2 separate regions of the Homo sapiens genome follow, and region 1 is linked to region 2. Evidence: promoter capture Hi-C in 16 types of primary human blood cells and fetal thymus (Javierre and others, 2016). All regions are on one chromosome and are shown on one strand. The core of a region is centred on a gene start or on the middle of the fragment in contact, and the rest is flanking DNA. Distances in the headings are between cores, read along the strand shown. Region 1 holds the start of PDIA4 (protein disulfide isomerase family A member 4). Region 2 holds the start of RHEB (Ras homolog, mTORC1 binding).

What was found. Contacts are between HindIII fragments. The CHiCAGO score rates a contact against its expected background, and 5 or more counts as called.
Region 1: a contact is called between the fragment with the promoter of PDIA4 here and a fragment that was not itself captured in region 2, in 1 of 17 cell types (total CD8 T cells). The highest score is 5.3, in total CD8 T cells.

What each region holds. Positions count from the first base shown.
Region 1 is chr7:149,026,384-149,029,899 of GRCh38, reverse strand. It overlaps PDIA4 (protein disulfide isomerase family A member 4), which reads left to right and starts at 1,395. Exons shown (of 10, transcript NM_004911.5): 1 at 1,395-1,579. The coding sequence starts at 1,492. RefSeq lists silencers at 903-1,482, 1,553-1,622, 1,713-1,762 and enhancers at 1,087-1,680, 1,681-2,275. The HindIII fragment of the contact is 15,108 bases long and covers 521-3,516 here.
Region 2 is chr7:151,516,678-151,520,500 of GRCh38, reverse strand. RHEB (Ras homolog, mTORC1 binding) reads left to right here and starts at 606. Exons shown (of 8, transcript NM_005614.4): 1 at 606-1,041. The coding sequence starts at 990. RefSeq lists silencers at 156-205, 246-595, 1,096-1,215, 926-1,355, 1,286-1,395 and 1 more and an enhancer at 2,426-2,475. The HindIII fragment of the contact is 161 bases long and covers 2,150-2,310 here.

The DNA of each region.
Region 1 (3,516 bases), core at 146-2,645, 2.5 Mb after region 2:
GTCCCACCTACCCGGGAGGCTGAGACAGTAGAATCACTTGAACCCAGGAGGCGGAGGTTGCAGTGAGAGGAGATGGCGCCACTGCATTCCAGCTTGGGTGACAGAGCAAGACTCTTGTCTCAAAAAATAAAATAACATGATACCGAACTGTCTGGTGGCCCACATTCATAGCACTCTAATAAATCAGTGTGTACAGTTGCATAATGTTCTGCCCTACAAAATTGACCAGGAACCATCAGATTAATAGGCATTCAACAAAAAAATTAAGTATTTTTAATTGCTAAGGTCTGTGAGTTATCCCTTTTTTCTTCCTCACGTAATAATCTGCACACACGAGAAAATATTCCTGAACTTGAGTTTCTATTTTTTTTCTTTTCCCTATTTGCCTTCTCAAACTCCCAGGTGTTAAAAAAAAGTCTCAAACTTAATGCACATTACAGGCTTCTTTTCTGACATACAAAAATCGTCATCTTAACCTAGTTTTCTTCTCCAAAGTGGTCAAGAGGGAAAACCTCAAGCTTTTATTCAGATCTATGTAAACCACTAGATTGCCTATCTGGTATTTCCTTTTGCAGAAAATCACTAGAAAACTAAATAAGACGAGGCAAAGTTTAGACAAGAATCTGATGGCTTGTTTCTCCGAGATGCAACCTTGGAGAGAGGCTTCCCCAGATTCTAGTCTGGATTCACTTTACTGCATGCTCTTCCCCGCTCTCTAGCTCAATACTCCGGAGAGAAATGAAACTTTTATTTGCTCGAGCAGAAAAAGAAATTAAGAAGGCCACGAACATGCAGCGGACTTGGAGCCCCTTTCTAGCAACAAACAGGCTCGTGCTCCTCCGCCCGCGTTGGTCTCCAGCTTCCCAGAGCCCCGGCGGGTTGCGAGGACCGCCCTGCTCGCCACTGCTCCCCACCGCTCCGGTACCGACACGTGTTCTTACTGCCAAGTTCGGCCGCAGGATGCTGAGCCGAGCCCCGCCCCGCTCCACATTTCCCAGGCTCCGCCTCTCCTGCCCCGCCCCCGGCACCGATTGCCAATAGCGCCCCGAGGCGTAGCCAGGTCCCGCACTCCCCGTGCCCGGCCCGCCGCCTTTGTTCTCCCCCGCTCTCCCTCTTGGCCTGTGCGCTCCCGGCAAACCGAGTGGCAGCCGCTGATTGGTGGTTGTGGCGCAGCCAATCAGAAGGGGGCACCTCACGTTAGGGCTCGGAGTTTTAAACGCGCAGCCGAGGGCCGCGCGCAGGAGTAGGGAGGGCCTAGGGCGGCGGAGCCGACTCGTCGCGGCCGAGGCGCGCGCGGTCCGTGCCGGCGTCAGTCTGGGATTGGCCGGCCCGCGACTTCCTCCGCCCCCTGCCAATCGCCGGGGACGACTTCCGTGGGTTTTTCCGGCTCCCCCGCGTCGCTAAGGAGCGACGGGCTGTCGGCCAGACCCCGAGTTCTCGGTGCGCTCAGCGGCCGCCGACGCTAGGAGGCCGCGCTCCGCCCCCGCTACCATGAGGCCCCGGAAAGCCTTCCTGCTCCTGCTGCTCTTGGGGCTGGTGCAGCTGCTGGCCGTGGCGGGTGCCGAGGGCCCGGACGAGGGTGAGCGGCAAGCGCGCCGCGGGTCGGGCTGTGCTTGCGGGGGCTGCAGAGCTGTGCGGGGGCCTGGGCCCTGCGACCCCGGCGGGCGGGCTTCCGCGCGGTCAGCTCCAGAACTAGTGATGGGCGCCGAGCCCGGGGTAAACTTGGCGGAGTTGAAGGGGCGGGGGCGGTGGCTGTGGCAGTGGCAGGATCGATTTGGGGTTCCCGGGAGAGGAAGGTGGCCGGGGTCTCTTGGGCTCCGACGCCCTGGAAGACCCCTGTCACCCGAGGCTGGGAGAGGGCTGCAGAGCGCCTTTTTTGCAGCTGGGTCCTTCGCCTTAATTTACAGATTTTCGTCAGGTCCAGGCTAACTCCAGGCGAACGCGCCCAGGCAGTGGGAAGGGAGAGGGAGAGCCACTGGAGAGAAGGGGCGAGGGCGTGAAGAAACAAGTGCGAGTTCTTTGGAACAGCAAGCATTCCTTTTCAAAATGTGGTCTGTAGATTTGGAAATGATTAATCCATAGATTCTGGAGAAAGGGATGGCTTGGTTTGCACCTTTGAGAAACTAGAGATACCATTCCTTCTGCATTTAGCATTTACTGTGTGCCAGTCCCTGTACTGGGTTCTGGGAGGAAAAGATTGTGAGTGTGGTCCCTGCCCATGAAGCGCGTACTCCAGTAGGAATAGTAACAACTACTTCATGGTCCCTGCATTTTTCTTCGAAGTGAGCTAGCTGCAGACATAAGAACTCTGAAGATTAGGAAGTGCTAATTAAGGAAAAGTTGTTATTCCTAGAGAATAAGGCATCCAGGTACTGGTCTTTACCTTCTTCCTCTCTGCCCTTACTTTTAATCACTAGCTTTTTAACCTTCTGAGTTTGTTCTAATATAAATATACACTCTTTGATAATGTTAGTGTGTAGGGAAATCGTGAACTTTATACTCTTTCAAACAGATTGAGTAACTTCTGCGTGGGTCACTGATTCAAAAAGAGTCTTTGCCCAAATAGAAAAGGAAGTAAAAACCCACACTCGGCGAGAAAAACACCTGCCGAAAGGAATCCGATAGCGGGACTGCTTACAAATTGTGTCTTGAGACCTTTACCCAAATCATGTTTGTTTAAATAGTGTTTATTTAAATACAGATACCCAAAATACACTGAAGCAGAATGCAGGGGTGGGCCCCGGAATCTGCGTTTTAAGTCAGTTTTCCCTTGAGACATAGAATTAACTTCGGGAGGCACAGTGAAAGTTGAGGACCAGTGTGGGTGGAAGATGCTTTTTGGAACATAGCGGAAAAGCATATAGCACTGTCTTGGTTTTGATCCAGTGATTCTGTTTTTGGGGGGATTCTTGAGAGGCCTGGGAGAGTGGCTTTAGGAGCTGTTAGGACCAGCAAGTTTATCCTTCCGGTCAGAGGTCTTTAACACAGAAGAGTCCCTGGGAAGCAGTTGCTCCTAGGGTGAGCCTAGGAATCCCAGGGGTCATCATGGCCAAGGGCAGGCCTCCTGGGACTTCTAGCTCCGTTTTTTTTTTTTTTTTTCCTAGATAAGGTTACGCATTGTTGCCCAGGCTTGAGTGCACTGTCCTGATCATGGCTTACTTAAGCCTCAAACTCCTGGGCTCATGGGATCCTCCTGCCTCAGCCTCCCGAGGAGCTGGGACTGTAGGTGCTTGCCAACACGCCTGGCTGTTTTTTTTTTCTGGCTCTGTCGCCCAGGCTGGAGTGCAGTGACGCGATCTCAGCTCACCACAACCTCTGCTTCCCGAGTTCAAGTGATTCTCCTTTCTCCACCTCCCTAGTAGCTGGGACCACAGGCACGTGCCACCACACCCAGCTAATTTTTTGTATTTTTCAGTAGAGACGGGGTTTCACCGTGTTAACCGGGATGGTCTCGATCTCCTGACCCCGTGATCCGCCTGACTTGGCCTCCCAAAGTGCTGAGATTACAGGAGTGAG
Region 2 (3,823 bases), core at 981-3,480:
CGAAGCGAAGCGGACACCAGAACTGACGAGGCTCGCCCTGTTTTTAATGAAATTCCTAACACTTTGAATTAACGCAGACTCCATGCTTCCCACAGTCCTTCGGCCGTCGGTGACGCTTAGTCACCACTACATCCTCAAACCCAGACACGAACGCTAACGCAGCTCAAGGAGAATTTTCAAAAAACCCCGAGGGAGGAGCCAGCCCACCCGCCCAGGCCACGCGCCTCGCGCCCTTCACGGGCTCAGCGGGCGCGAACCCGCCAACCGCTTAGCGTTTCGCCAATCACCGCACCTCCCACCTATTGCCCCGCCCTGCGCTCCGTTCTGGCCAATCACCAGGGAGCCACCGTTTGTCTCTCCGCCTCTCCCGCCCGCCCCTAACCGGTTGGAAGTTTGAAGCCTTCAAACCTAGCCGGCGCCCAACAGCGCGGTAGCAGCGAGGTGTATTTTTAGCTCCCGGGCGGGCAGCCCCGCCCCCCCCTCCCCGCCTCCTTGTTTCCCCCAATGGGAGATGGAGTTTCCGACACGTCATCGCGCGGCTGTGCAGGAGCTGTCCAATCGGCGCTCGGGGAGAATGGCGTAATTAAAAAGCGGCGGAAGAAGGTGGGAGGGTCATGACGCAGCGAGTTTCAGTCGTGACTTTTCTGGGGGCATCGCGGCGTCCCCTTTTTTTGCCTTTAAAGTAAAACGTCGCCCCGACGCACCCCCCGCGTATTTCGGGGGGCGGAGGCGGCGGGCCACGGCGCGAAGAGGGGCGGTGCTGACGCCGGCCGGTCACGTGGGCGTGTTGTGGGGGGGAGGGGCGCCGCCGCGCGGTCGGTTCCGGGCGGTTGGGAGCGCGCGAGCTAGCGAGCGAGAGGCAGCCGCGCCCGCCGCCGCCCCTGCTCTGTATGCCGCTCTCTCCCGGCGCGGCCGCCGCCGATCACAGCAGCAGGAGCCACCGCCGCCGCGGTTGATGTGGTTGGGCCGGGGCTGAGGAGGCCGCCAAGATGCCGCAGTCCAAGTCCCGGAAGATCGCGATCCTGGGCTACCGGTCTGTGGGTGAGTGGCCGGTGGCCGCGCGGCCTCCTCGCGCCGCCGGGGCCTCGCCTGGGAGCCGGGTCGCGGCCGGGCCTGCGAAGTTTGGAGCCGGCGCGGCCATGTGGCGGGGCGGGCGGGGGCCGCGCGTTTCGTAACCACCATTCTGAGCGGAGGTGGTGGCGGTCGGGGCGGCGTCCGCGCCGGTGGAGGAGCCGCGGTAGCTGGGCGCCCTCCGCGGGCCGGGCGGGCAGGTGGCGGCCGGGCGGAGGGCGTGGGAGGCGCGGGGCGGGGGCCGTCGGCCGCCGAGGAGTCCGGGTCTCGTCTGGGGAAGTGAGGCGGCGCCGGGGAGCCGCGCTAGAGGCTGCCGCGAGGGAGTCACACCTGCCTCCCCGCCTTCGCCGCGGGCGCGCGTGACCGGGGCTGGCGGTCTCCCCCACCCCGCCCCCGATGTAAGGAAAAGAAAGTCCGTGGGATTTTAACAAAGGAAGCAGCGCCTCGGCTTCATTCCATCTGTGGTGAAGTTTACCCTTGTAAAGAAAACTAGGGATTTAGAGGACGTTTGGGCACTGAACGCAAGTTTTCTGCATAGGAAACCTAGGCGATCCCCCAAAAGAGGTCCCTCTGGAGGCCCTCGAGATGCTGCTGGCGGCCTGGGTAGGAAGACAGAGAAAAAGGAATGTCTGATCTCTCGGTGCCCTATTTTTGTTCGGGAAGGAATAAGGTCAGGTACTTGCAACCAGGCTGTTGAAGTAATTCCAAAGTCTTTTTGTTTTCTTTTTCTTCCCCCAAAAGGTTGACATACATTTGAAACAGTTCCTAGCAGTCGCCTTATTGCTGAATAAGGTGGCTTAGGGTCGGGTTGGGGGGCGGACGGGGTGTTACAGAACGAGCGGTTTTCTGGCCTGTGTGAAACCAGAGCGATTGAACTTAGACACGCTTCAGGGTGAGGCTGTATTGTCTCCCGACATCCGGAAGCCTGGAGAAATTAGTTCATCTTTTCGGGCTGTTTTGAAGTAACTGTCTATAGAAGGCGTGCACCGGGCCACAGTTGAGGGGATGGGGAGGTGAAAGCGAGGGTTCCGAGGCTCCCGTGATTGCGGAACGGGGTGACTATCTGTCATGGGAAGCTTGTACCTGCCTGCCGCTCACTGGATGCACTCCCCAACTGCGCTTTCCACCGCCTGTGCCAGGGTCTGTGCTCTTTGACCAAGATCAGCCACTGCATGCTTACTCATCCTTTTACCACCTCTCCGTCGAGAGCCGGGGGGAAATTAAGGGCTGAAAGAAGCTTGGCTAGAGATGCGGGGTGCCTAGAGTCGTAGGGGAACTCTTGTGCGATGCGGTGCTGAATCCGAGGGGATGCATAGGTGGCAGCTTTAACAGCTGCAGCCAGGAAGTAACCATGAATCAAATGGAGGGGTTCAAAGTCACTAATTGTTCAAATATCAACATGGAACCTGGGATCCAGCCTTTATTGGCAGCCTGAATCCATGCTCTTGTCTCTGTTCTCTTGATTTCCTCCTCTGCATTTTGAGGAGTTGGGACCGCGAGGTGTTCTGGCTCTTGGGTGAGCCTTCCCTAGTCAGTCAAGTAAGTACTTATTGGCAACTATTTGGAAATAGTAGTCCCTGAATAATCACGTTATAGGCAACAAGTACCTCGGCTACCTGATTTCAACCCAAGAGAATGACCTAAAGATCTTGACTGATTTACCCTTTTCAAATGTCGAAATGGTAGCTCTAGTCTTTGGTGAGCAGGGCTAGTTTTATCACTTTTTTTTTTTTTTTTTTGGCTACAGAAGTTCCTTATGTCCAGTTGAAATCCATTCTGTTTTATCTTCCCTCTATTCAGCGTCCTCCTGAGGACGGAGATGTGACAGGCCACCCCTTAGCCTTGTCCTCACAAACTGTTGCTTGTTAAATACTGTGCTAACTTAGTCTCCGGTGGGATACAGGGTCACTTTTAGTCCCTATTTTCTGTCTTCAGTATTTCATATTTCTGCAACCTACCCCACTTCTCCATATTTATTTTCAAGCGTAGTCATATTAAACGATTTTGGAGAGGTTAAGTTGCTCCCAATCTTGTATTTGATTTTTTTTTTTTTTTTTTTCCGAGACGGAGTTTCGCTCTTGTGACCCAGGCTGGAGTGCAATGGCGCGATCTCGGCTCACTGCATCCTCCACGCCCCGGACTCAAGCGATTCTCCTGCCTCAGCCTCCAGAGTAGCTGGCACTACAGGCGTGCACCACTATGCCCGGCTAATTTTGTATTTTTAGTAGAGACGGGTTTCACCACTTGGCCAAACGTCAGGCTTGTCTCAAACGCCTGACCTCAGGTGGTCCTCCCACCTTGGCCTCCCAAAGTGCTGGGATTATAGGCGTGAGCCACCATGCCCAGCCGCATTTGATTTTAAAGTGTATTATGAGCCAGGATATTTTGTAGTATGTGGGGTCTTTTTTAGGGGAAGGAGATTAGGTTTTGCCAGCAGGTTTCTTCTAGTAAGCCACCCTTTTGAGAATTACTCAGCATGCTCACTTCTGGGAGCTTACTGGCATGTTTGCTTGCAAATGGTGGTGCTGTACCAGAGAAATTTGAGTACCTGTGTTTCTAGATTGTGGTATTTTGTGATGCTGAGCTGTTTGTCCTATATTCTGGGGGTAGAGCCACATAAAAAGCCTCCACACCTTTCTTAGAATGTTCTCTTGATTAAATACATTAAGCCAGTTTGACTAGTAGGATACTTGTCATTGTGATTTGTCATGCCACAAACTTTATTTTTAAAGTTGTCTTCAGATAAAACAAA